Regions from separate parts of the Homo sapiens genome. Here region 2 is linked to region 1. The links are contacts of gene promoters, found by promoter capture Hi-C in human tissues and cell types (Jung and others, 2019). All regions are on one chromosome and are shown on one strand. The core of a region is centred on a gene start or on the middle of the fragment in contact, and the rest is flanking DNA. Distances in the headings are between cores, read along the strand shown.

Evidence for each region. Contacts are between HindIII fragments. The study calls those that stand out against the background at their distance.
Region 2: a contact is called between a fragment that was not itself captured here and the fragment with the promoter of UNC5D in region 1, in 2 of the 25 tissues and cell types used here (aorta and spleen).

What each region holds. Positions count from the first base shown.
Region 1 is chr8:35,233,249-35,238,518 of GRCh38, forward strand. UNC5D (unc-5 netrin receptor D) reads left to right here and starts at 2,227. Exons shown (of 17, transcript NM_080872.4): 1 at 2,227-2,639. The coding sequence starts at 2,537. The HindIII fragment of the contact is 15,361 bases long and covers 1-5,270 here.
Region 2 is chr8:35,499,908-35,505,177 of GRCh38, forward strand. The region is part of intron 1 of UNC5D (unc-5 netrin receptor D); the gene reads left to right. Among named protein-coding and RNA genes, the nearest start is that of UNC5D, 270 kb to the left of the region's middle. The HindIII fragment of the contact is 3,255 bases long and covers 621-3,875 here.

The DNA of each region.
Region 1 (5,270 bases), core at 977-3,476:
TTACTTATATCCCATTTTGAAATAAAACTGATTTTATTTTTGCCCCCAGTGGGTCAGTAGAAAGACTTAAATAGTATCTTGGACACATAGTAATTCTTTTTTCCTTTTTTGTTCTAAGAAAATCCTCATTTGTGACAGAACTGCCACATAGTCCTGAAGAATAAGGAAAGTCAGGCGATGAATGACTATTTTCCAGAAGACAGGTAAAGCATATTTGGTAGATTAATTCTCAATTCACCTTCTAAGCAGAAAAGGACAAAACCCTCATTTACCAAGATTCTAAAGAGATTTCCAGGCAAGTCCCTAGCCAGCCCCACATCAGTCTTTGCTTTGAAGCATCCATTCCCCAGAGCTTGGTTTTCTTGACTAGGTCCCAAACCTTTTATTGAGCCGCAAGGCGACCGGAGGAAACAATCGGCTTCTTGCACAGACATTCACGTGTCTGGTGGCACTCAAGAGAGGGCTGGCACAAAAGTGCTTATCAGAGAATCAATCTTTTTTGCCTATTATCTTCCTTTTCCTCGGAAGAAAGTGAGTTAGTGCAATTACCTCATCTAGAACAATTACCTCACCTTAAACTGTTTATTCTTCAGAGAAAGGCGTTTGGGAGCAGGTAGCACATTGGCGGGAGACATGGATTTTTGAAAAGTACTTGATGTTGAGCGTGGGTAGTGAGGAACTGCTGGGAAGGTTGCCTTTCAAACCAAGGCTCCCTTTTCTATGGGGGATTACCAGGCAAAAGGTGAGCTCTGCTGCCATTTTGAGGACTCGATCCTGGCAGCGATAATGAGGTAGTCCAATTGGGGAGCCTGGGACTCCCCACCAACTTCCTGGGTGTGCTCTGAAATTGAGTGACCTAGGACAAGCTCTCTAAAGTTACTCCTCCAGCAGAGGGAAGAGGCAACCGTGAGGTATTTTCGAAAGCAGTTAAATAAAAATTTGATAATCTATCTAAAACAAGCCACACTTAAAAAAAAAAAAAAAAAGAGTCTTCTTTCCTTCTTCTTATAAAAGTCCAGCGCGTTTCAAAGTCCTTTTAATTGTCAGGCCCAGAGAGACATTAGAATGAGACCACAATCATGCCCTACTCCTTCCTTTAAACTATATATTCATTTCTTAAAACTACATACTATTACTACAAATAGCTATAAATTAACCTAATAATACCACATCAAACAGTATAACCCACATCCTATGACTTAACTATATATAACTAATCACTAATCGACATTATTTCAATAAATCAGTATAAATTCCTAACAATGTTACATCAGTCCACTCCCCATCCCCCTTTTTTTTGCCTTTAAGAATCCACTTATAACTACTACTAATCAAAATATATATTCAAAACAACTTAAATCTATACTCCTGAGTTGCAATCCTCACACTTGGCCCAAATAAACTCTTACTTATATTAATTTCGCCTCACCTTCTTCCTTTTTAAGTCGACACTCCTTTCCCTGATACTTACCAGAAGGCAATTCCTTGGGCTCAGATTAAAACTGACAAAAATAGGAGCCATTCGAAATGAGGGAGCTTCTGAAAAGTTTGGGGATTCCGGAGTGTTCAGGACAACAGAATAGGGAATTCGAAAAAAAAAGAAAGCAAAAATAAAAATCGATTATACAAGCCTTAATGCACCCATGATTGTTATTCCCCACTTCTTTATTTATATGAATGAAGTTAGCATAGTTGCAGCAATGGAGTAACTCCATTATTATTTTTTCCCACTACGCATTTATTTTAAGTCTTTCTTTTTCTCAGGATGTTTTCCTGAGTGATGTCTGATCTAATGGGAAAAAGTGGAAGTAGGAGAGGCAGGACTTTAGAAGGGCTCAAAGTAGATGAACAAAACGGAGGTCTCCTGGAAGCAGGTGACTGAGTTAGGCAACCGAGATGCCCACATATCTGTGCGGCGTTCGCCCCAAGAGGCCAGCCGGCTCCGCTCAGCTCCCCGCGGCGTGGCCGCATCCCCGCCGCCCGACTCCCAGCCCGCTTCCTCTCTCCGCGAGCGGGGGGGGGAGCTGCAGGCGGGGCCCGAAGCGCCCCGGGGGCACGTGGAGCGGCCTCTGGCTCACCTGCGCCTCCCGGGCCCCAGCCCAGCGCCGCCGCGTCACCGCCCCTCCCGCGGCCCCGCCCCAGCCCGGCTCATTGGCTGCCGCTCGGAGGGGAGGGGAAGGGGCGGCTGCGGGGGTCTCATTAGCGATGCGGACTCTCGCCTCCGCTCCGTAGTTCGGGGCCCGGCAGCGGCGCGAGGGCTGGGAACTGCGCGGCGGGGACTGCGGGCGACTCCGGCATCCGCGCTGGCGGCAGCGGTCGCCGCGCCGTGGGAAGCTATGGGGACGCGCCCTTTCTCGGGGTGCCCATTCAGCGGCGGCTCGGAGCTCCCTGCCCCGCTGCTTTAGGAAGCGATCGTGGAGCAGAGTCACTCTCTGAAGACTCCCGAGACCCATTCGACTCGGGACCCTCATCGCCGACCCTTTCCCGGGCTCCCGGAGCGTGAAGAAGAGCCGCCCTCCGGAACGCGGCGAGGAGCATGGGGAGAGCGGCGGCCACCGCAGGCGGCGGCGGAGGGGCGCGCCGCTGGCTCCCGTGGCTGGGGCTGTGCTTCTGGGCGGCAGGGACCGCGGCTGCCCGAGGTAAGCGCTGGGCGGAGCGGGCAGCTGGGGGCGAGGGCGCAGGGGCGCCAGCCTGACGGAGCGGGACCTGCACCGATGGCGTTGGCTTCCCAACTTGCGCCCTGCACCTCGGCGCTCCAAGCCCAACCGGATGGGAGCCGAGTGGAGGACTCCGAGGGGACCACAGCCTTCCAACCCAAGTTTGCGATCTGCCGCAATCCTACAGGTGGCTGTGACCCGGGCCCCTACCGTTTTCCTGGACCCTCCTTGCCTGCTCCATTTTCCAAGCCCTCCCCAATTGCTGCAGACTGGAGTAGCCCGGTCTTCACTCCAATCTCGCTCTCCCCTCTCCTCTCCACTTCCTCTCAAGCCGAGCTTGGTCATGAGTTAGCGCCCATAGCGATGTCGGAGAGTTCCTGGGGAGAGGGGCCAGGTGATGGGAGTGTCTGTAGGGTGGGCTTGAACAGAGAGGGTGTCTTTTCCCTTAGGGGAGGAACACCCATGCTGAAGTCCCTTCGCTCTGCGCCTAGCTTGGCACCCCTCGGGCGTCCTTAGCCCGAGGTCCCAGCCAGCCCTGGAGCTCGGGAGAGCGGCGTGCACCATCCCAGTTTAACCGCGCCTGCAGTGCCCAGCCGGGATGAGCACTTGGCCCGAGGCTGCTCACCAGGCGCCTCCTCTCCCTTCCCGGCGCCTACTCTGGCTTGGAAGCGCGGGCCCCACCGAGCCGCAGGGAAACCTCTGCTTCTTTCCGACTTAGAAGCCTAGACCCCATTTTCTTGGATCCTCTGGACTCCAGCAGAGGGAAATTTCGCAACTGGTTTCAGCTCCACCTTGAGCGAGGACAGGCAGCATCAAGTTAAAGATAAATCCCAAGGAGTTGTTTTGAAGATGATCAGAGGCAGTTTCAGACACAGCTCAAGTACCGGAGCTTTACCTTTGAAAAAAATCGGAAGCTTTGCCTTCCCGCCCTTCTTTCCCTTTTTCCTTCTCTGTGTTCCATCCATCAGGCTTAGAATATGTGATACCGTTAAATGATTTGCCTTACACTTGCCAGGGGAGAGGTGGAGCTGAGCTGACCACTTCACCTGCTCTGTTCGGTCTCCTGAACATGCTCCGACCAGCCTGGAGAGTGAAAGGGTGGAAAGGGTTGAGGACGATCACAAAAGAACCAATGTTATCTCATTTTTATAAAAGCTTATGGCGTGTTAAAAGCAGTCCGGCTGCCTAGAAAGATTTTCTTTTTAAGAGGTTGATAGAGGCTCTCCATTGTATGATCCTATTCTTTGCCCATTTGCATTTCATTTCCTGAAAAGTTTTTTTTTTTTTTTTTTTTTTTTTTTAATGGAGCGGGCTTTGTAAGAAGCAGGGGAGGTTTAAAAATGAGCGTCGGTGATTGTACACCCTGGGTTATGATGAACCACAGTTCCTTCTCGTACTGGAAGAAGCACAAGCTTCAGCCATTTAATTTACTACGTACGGCAAATGTCTCATTGCAAAGTCAGCTCTCAGTTGTTTTTAATACACTCTTATGGGAAAAGTGGGTCTTTTCTAAATGTTAATCTAAATGTCTGAGTTTCCACTTACTATTCGTGTGGAATACCTCACAGTCACTAACTCCAGGTACTCACCCTTGGAATTGGGTTGGTGACGTTGTCTTGAAGCCAGCTCGAAACAAGAGGTGGGGACATGCCAGCAGCCTCTTGGATGGAGTTTTGCTGGCTGCGAAACTAAGGCTAGCACCTCTTGTCTGCAAGCTGTTCTTTAAAGGTCTCCTGGAAAACATGCTGTACATTCTGCAGGCTTATTTACAACAAATGTCTTGCACAGATCATAGTAATATGCAAGACACATGGAGTGGAGCCGTAAATCTGACTGATATTTCCCATGTCATATTTTACATTCTGGGGCATGAGGCCCATTCCCCTTAGCAACTGTCAGAGAGTCCTCAAGAAATGAGCACTAGTCAGGCTGTGAAACCGGTGAAGCCACATGCACCTGGCTTTGCACAGTTGGGTGTAATTGGAGTTTTCAGAATAGAGGGTGTGTTTCAGTGCTTATGAAGTTCTCCCTTCCCAGAAAGGTGTCCATTCATTAAAACCAAGATAAGATGCACTGGTGTGGCATGCTTGCCTGACCACTAGTCTCACCATACTCTCTAGGATTAGCCCTAGGTTGTTCTTACTTATCCAATTAATAGTTTTTGTTCTTTAGGACTTTTCTTGTTGATTTGAAACAAGATACTTTGCTTGCCCTAACCAACGGGGTATAGAATTATGCCATTTGCCTTGCTGTTATGAGAATATTTAACAATTCAGTAGCGTTTTCTTTACCATATTTATCATTTATCTGTTTCCAAAATGATTGCACCAACTTTTTTTTTTCTTTCCTTTCCCTCCATACTTATGTAGAAACCTCTGCAAATCAGAGGGAGATTTCAAATTGGTTTTGAATATACTCTAGGAGGAAGACCCTTGGGACAAGGAAATGTTGTAGAGCCCAGTAGTGGCCCAAGAAGCAATGTTCTGTTTCCCTCCTTTGTAAGTAAGACTTAGCTCTTCAGATGAACATCTCTGCCTGTCGGCATATTGTAAGGAAGGCACTCTGGTGCCATGATCACTGTATATTTTTACACTTTCCAACTTAAAAGGAGGT
Region 2 (5,270 bases), core at 998-3,497, 270 kb after region 1:
TTAATGCTTATACTGGAAATGCAAAATATCTGACACTCTAATTGGATTCTGTGCAAGTGAAACTATCAAATTGGGAATAGTAAACATCTTGCACCACTCAAACCCTAAACAGTATTGAACAACAACAAAAACAAATTATCACCCTCACCTTTCATTTTAAATAATTGATTTCATATTTGAATGACATTAAGCCATGTATTCTGATAGTATTAATTAGTTTTCAAGGAAATATGTCTTTGCCTCTTGTCTTAGTCTATTTTCTGAATAAGAAAATAAATTTATTTCTTATAGTTCTGGAGACTGGGAAGTCCAAGAGCATAGTGCTAGCATCTGTTGAGGGCCTTCCTACTGCATCATAACATGGTGGAGGGCATTATATGGCGAGAGGGAGAAAGCCAGAGAGAGCTTGCTTTTATAGTAAAGCCACTCCCATGATAAGGAACCCACTGTCCTGATAGTGACACTAACCCATTCATGAGGGCAGAGAGATGTTTTTAACCCATTAACTTTTGGGGGCTACATTTAACCTGTAATGCCTTTTATTGACTCTATTAGGCTTATAAGATGTTAAGTACTTCTATTAAACCATTCATGTTCCTATTCAACTGTATATTTATGTGACCCAATGAATGAAATATTTTATTCTCTGTGGAAGTAATCCCTGACATCTTTCTTTTCTGAACTTCTCACAACACTGTCTGTAAACCATATTTATGCTACTCGTCACATTATAGTTTAACCCACTGAGGTTTTTGACCTTGCCTACTAGGCTGCGGGTATCTTGGGCTGGTTATTATCCTCATATTTAGCACAGAGCCTTGTATATCACGGCTGCGTGATAAATGATTGGTGATTGATTGAATGCATGTGTATGAACGGATGACTTAAAGCAAAAGATCAGGCTGAATTCACTGGATATTTTCCACATTTAGGGGCAAGGGAGAATGACAAGTATGACATTTTAAAATGTTTTAGTTAAAAATAAGATCCAAAACCTTTCTAATAGGGGTTTGGAAATTGTTAAAATTCAAAGGAAATAGGAGGAAAGTAGCATTTAGAGTACCATGATTCTTGGTACTGCACCTCTGGGTGCTTTCCCATGAGCTCTGTGAGGTCAGGGGACATGTCTGACTTGTTTGCCAGTGGTTAGCACAGCACTTGTTACATAGTAGTTGCTCAATAAATACCTCATGTCTGACTGACCAAAGGCTGTCTGCCCAGAGAGTCAGCCATGAAACTACTCTGGAAACACTGACACGGTTCAGAAAACGTGATTACCAAGGCATTCGAAATAATGCCATCTATCTAGAAAGGCTTAGTGTCAGAAAAAACTTTTCCAGAGAACTTTGTCACTTCCAGGTGCTGCCTGACCAAGGTTGAAAGCAAAGAGTCCCCACCAGTTGGCCTCCCACATGTTTGTGCCCTAGTTGTAGCTTTTGTACTGATGGTGGCTTTCCTTTATGTTTCTATACTTGAAGGCATAAGGCCGGGGAAAGAAAGCTTTCAAATTCAGATCACTATGGGCAGAGCCCCTGAGTGGAGCAGTGGGGCTCTGTGAGGAAGATAGCTATAAGCTCCTCTTGGAGGGAAATGCCTCTCAAGTCACCCACAGTCAAAGCTTAGCTGAAGATGTCTCAGCTTTTGAAATCTCCGTGCAAGGGCAGAAGGCAGATGTTATAAAACAAATAAGTCAGAAAGCCTCCAAAGTTCTGAGTAGTTTGTATCTTTTAAAAAAAGAAGAAACAAAAATTTAAAATCATGACTGTTACCATTCAGAATTGATATAAAGGATTTGCATTCAGTTACCCCACTCTTACCATCATTAGAATGTACTTCATAAATATAAAATTCCCATGAGCCTTACAAAGTTCCTGCTCTGGTAGTTTACCTCTGAGCAAATACTACTTTGTGCTTTATTTGATGTGTTAACAAATAAAACTTTGTGTGTTGAAGAAAGTGATCTGTGTTAATTGATATGTTTTCCCCTAACTTCGGCATTAAACAAATGTGAGAGAGATGATTATTTGTGATAACTTGCCCTCCGCTTAATATTTAAAGTTTGAGTATTTTTAAATTGTACATAAATAAAATATGAATTTATAAGACAAGAGACTACAAAAGGGATGATGCATTGTTTTCAGCTGGCAAGAGAGACTGCTACTACCAGTGTTTTACGAGCATATTAATCCTCATTGGTACATATAATGTGTTGGTCTCCCATAGCCAATTATAAACATGTTTTATGGGAAGTTATCCCTCAATTTCTGCAGAGTCTCACTAAGGTAAGCATATCATGGCAGAGCCTACCGAAAGCACTCAGAGGGCTGGATAAACAGTCCAATGGTGGGTGAACTTAGAGATGAGGGATGCCTATAACGTTTATCCTTCTTATAAGCCAAAGCTCTTTTCCTGTAAAGAGTAGGTGCTATTCAGATCTAAGCAGAGTTGTCACACATGCGTGTGGCAGGATCAAATTTCAGGACTGCCATTACCATCCTGGTTATCCCAGATGACCATGGGAGCTCCCTGGACTTCAGTCCTGCCAATTCTTCCTAACTAAAATTATTTCAAATAAAATATCTCAAATGGATTTGAGTTCTTTCTAAGGCTGTGTACTAAGGATTTTGCATGGATTCTCTTCGTTTTTTTGTTTGTTTGTTTTCTTTTTTGAGATGGAATCTTGCTCTGTTGCCCAGGCTAGAGTGCAGTGGTGCGATCTTGGCTCACTGCAACCTCTGCCTCCCAGGTTCAAGCGATTCCCCTGCCTCCGCCTCCTGAGTAGCTGGGACTACAGGTGCACACCACCATGCCCGGCTAATTTTTTTTTTTTTGTATTTTTAGTAGAGACGGGGTTTCACCATGTTGGCCAGGATGGTCTCAATCTCCTGACCTCGTGATCTGCCCACCTCAGCCTCTTAAAGTGCTGGGATTACAGGCGTGAGCCACCGCGCCCAGCCTATATGGACTCTCTTATTTCATCCTCACAGAAAGGATGATCCTGTTATTTTCATTTTTCTTAATAGGCAAGGAAACTATGCTCAAGCTCCTTGCTACTCAAAGTGTGGTCCATAGACCAGGAGCATGAATATCACTTTGGAATTTGTTAAAAATACAAAATCAGTTGTAGAAGTACAAATCAGTTATCCCCAGAACAACGGATTCAAAACCTGAATTTTTACAAGATACCTGGGTGACTTGTAGCCTTGCCTAAATTCTCTCAGCTAAGAACATGGCAGAGCAGGGACTCAAAGTGTGTGGCTGGCACTAGAAATCTGACTTGGGACAGTGATCTCCCAGAGATCACATAGTCGGTGTATTAGTCCGTTTTCATGCCGCTGATAAAGAGATACCTGAGACTGAGTAATTTATAAAGAAAAAGAGGTTTAATGGATTCACAGTTCCACGTAGCTGGGGAGGCCTCACAATCATGGTGGCAGGCAAGAGAGAATGAGAGCCGCGTCAAAGGGAAAACCCCCTATAAAGCCATCAGATCTCCTGAGACTTACTCACTAGCATGAGAGCAGTATGGGGGAAACCACCCCCATGATTCAATTATCTCCCACCAGGTCCCTCCCACAGCATGTGGGAATTATGGGAGTTACAATTCAAGATGAGATTTGGGTGGGGACACAGCCAAACCATATCAGTTGGCAAGTGTCAGGGAAAGGATATGACCCTGTGCTCAGGACTGTGAATATTTCACTCTGTTTTATTCACATTCTCTCAAGAAGGAAGGAATGGAGGGTAATTAGTAGTGTAAGTTTTTGTTAATTAAAATGGTTAAACACTATGCTGGTGGCTTCCTTAATAGAAAGGGAGTTAGAATTTTAATTCCCACTCCTGGTGTTGCTCCCTCTGAATCATCGTCATTGAAGAGTGTGTATTAAAAGAGCCTCCCTGTGTCTGGTGCTGTCTTAACATCTAAAGAAAGAGAATGGGACAGTCAAAAAGAACATTAATTATAGTTACCTGCTCAACATGCTAGCTGAGTGCCCGGCACAGTGCTTATTAGCATTTAAAATATACGACTTAAACTTCCAGAAACAATCCTATAAAGCAGAAAGTATTATCACTCACGCTTTTAACCCTTGAAATGGTTGCCAGGTTTGGCTGACCTTAATTAACTATAGGCCTGGAAGGGTGGGTGAGAGGTAAAAAGATTATGAAGATGTGAGGTATTCTATGCAGGAGAAAGTATGAGGACAATGCTTAGAAGGACAGAGTGCCACATACTCACGGGGGTTTGATGAGAGTGAAGCAAAAACCATTGATGACTTCTCACTTAATTATGGCACCAGCTGGATACCTGGGTAAATCCTGGATCAGCCCTGACCTGCCGTGTGACCTTAGGCAAGCTGTTTGGGCTCTCTGTTTTGATCTTTGTAATTTGAAAAAATGACAGCCTCATAGCTATGTGAGGCTAATTAAAAGAGTTAATATCTCTGAGTGCTTAGACATTGCCTCTCATGGGTGCTATGCAGTTGTTAGCTCTTAGTTTTCAATCCTCTTTGGGAATACCCAGAAGTATTAGATACAGCCTTCTTAAAACCTTCAAGCTAATAACTTGCTTGTGAATGGTGGAGAGGTCCTGAGGTGTAATGTGAGGAATGCATTGTAAAAGAGCAAAGGAAGAGAAGATAAGGAAGGCCGAGGTTTTACCACCAGGCTTAATCACCTTATTGGAGGTGCTTAGACTCCATTCAAAGCCTCTAGTTTGTTGGCTCCTTTGTTCTTTCTGGCAACTCTAATAGAGTCCCAGATTTTTGTATGCATCAGCATTATCTGGGGAACAGTGTAGAGTGCATCTTCCTGAGCCTTTTTCTAAAATGTTTGATGTGTGTAGTCTGGTGTAGAACTCAGGCATCTGAATTCTGCTGAGTTCCGCATCTGTTCATGGTGGTTCTAGATGACTCCTCTTCTCTCATGGTGAAACAGAATCCACCCTCCCCTCTTACCATATGGCTCCCTGTGTCCACGTTCAAGTTTCCTCTGCAGATGAAGAGACAACTATGCCAAACACTCATGTGTAGCCCCCCAAAACAGCCACTGTTCAAGACGAGGTAAAGTATTCATGGAAACTTCATATGACTTGAGTCAAATTACTTGCAAACACTAAAAGAGTATACTTGGATTGTTTGTAGCACAAAGGATAAGTATGAGAGGTGATGTATACCCCATACCCTGATGTGATTATTATACATCACATGCCTGTATCAAAATCTCACGTAATCAAGAAATATATACACCTACTCTGTACCCACAAAAATCAA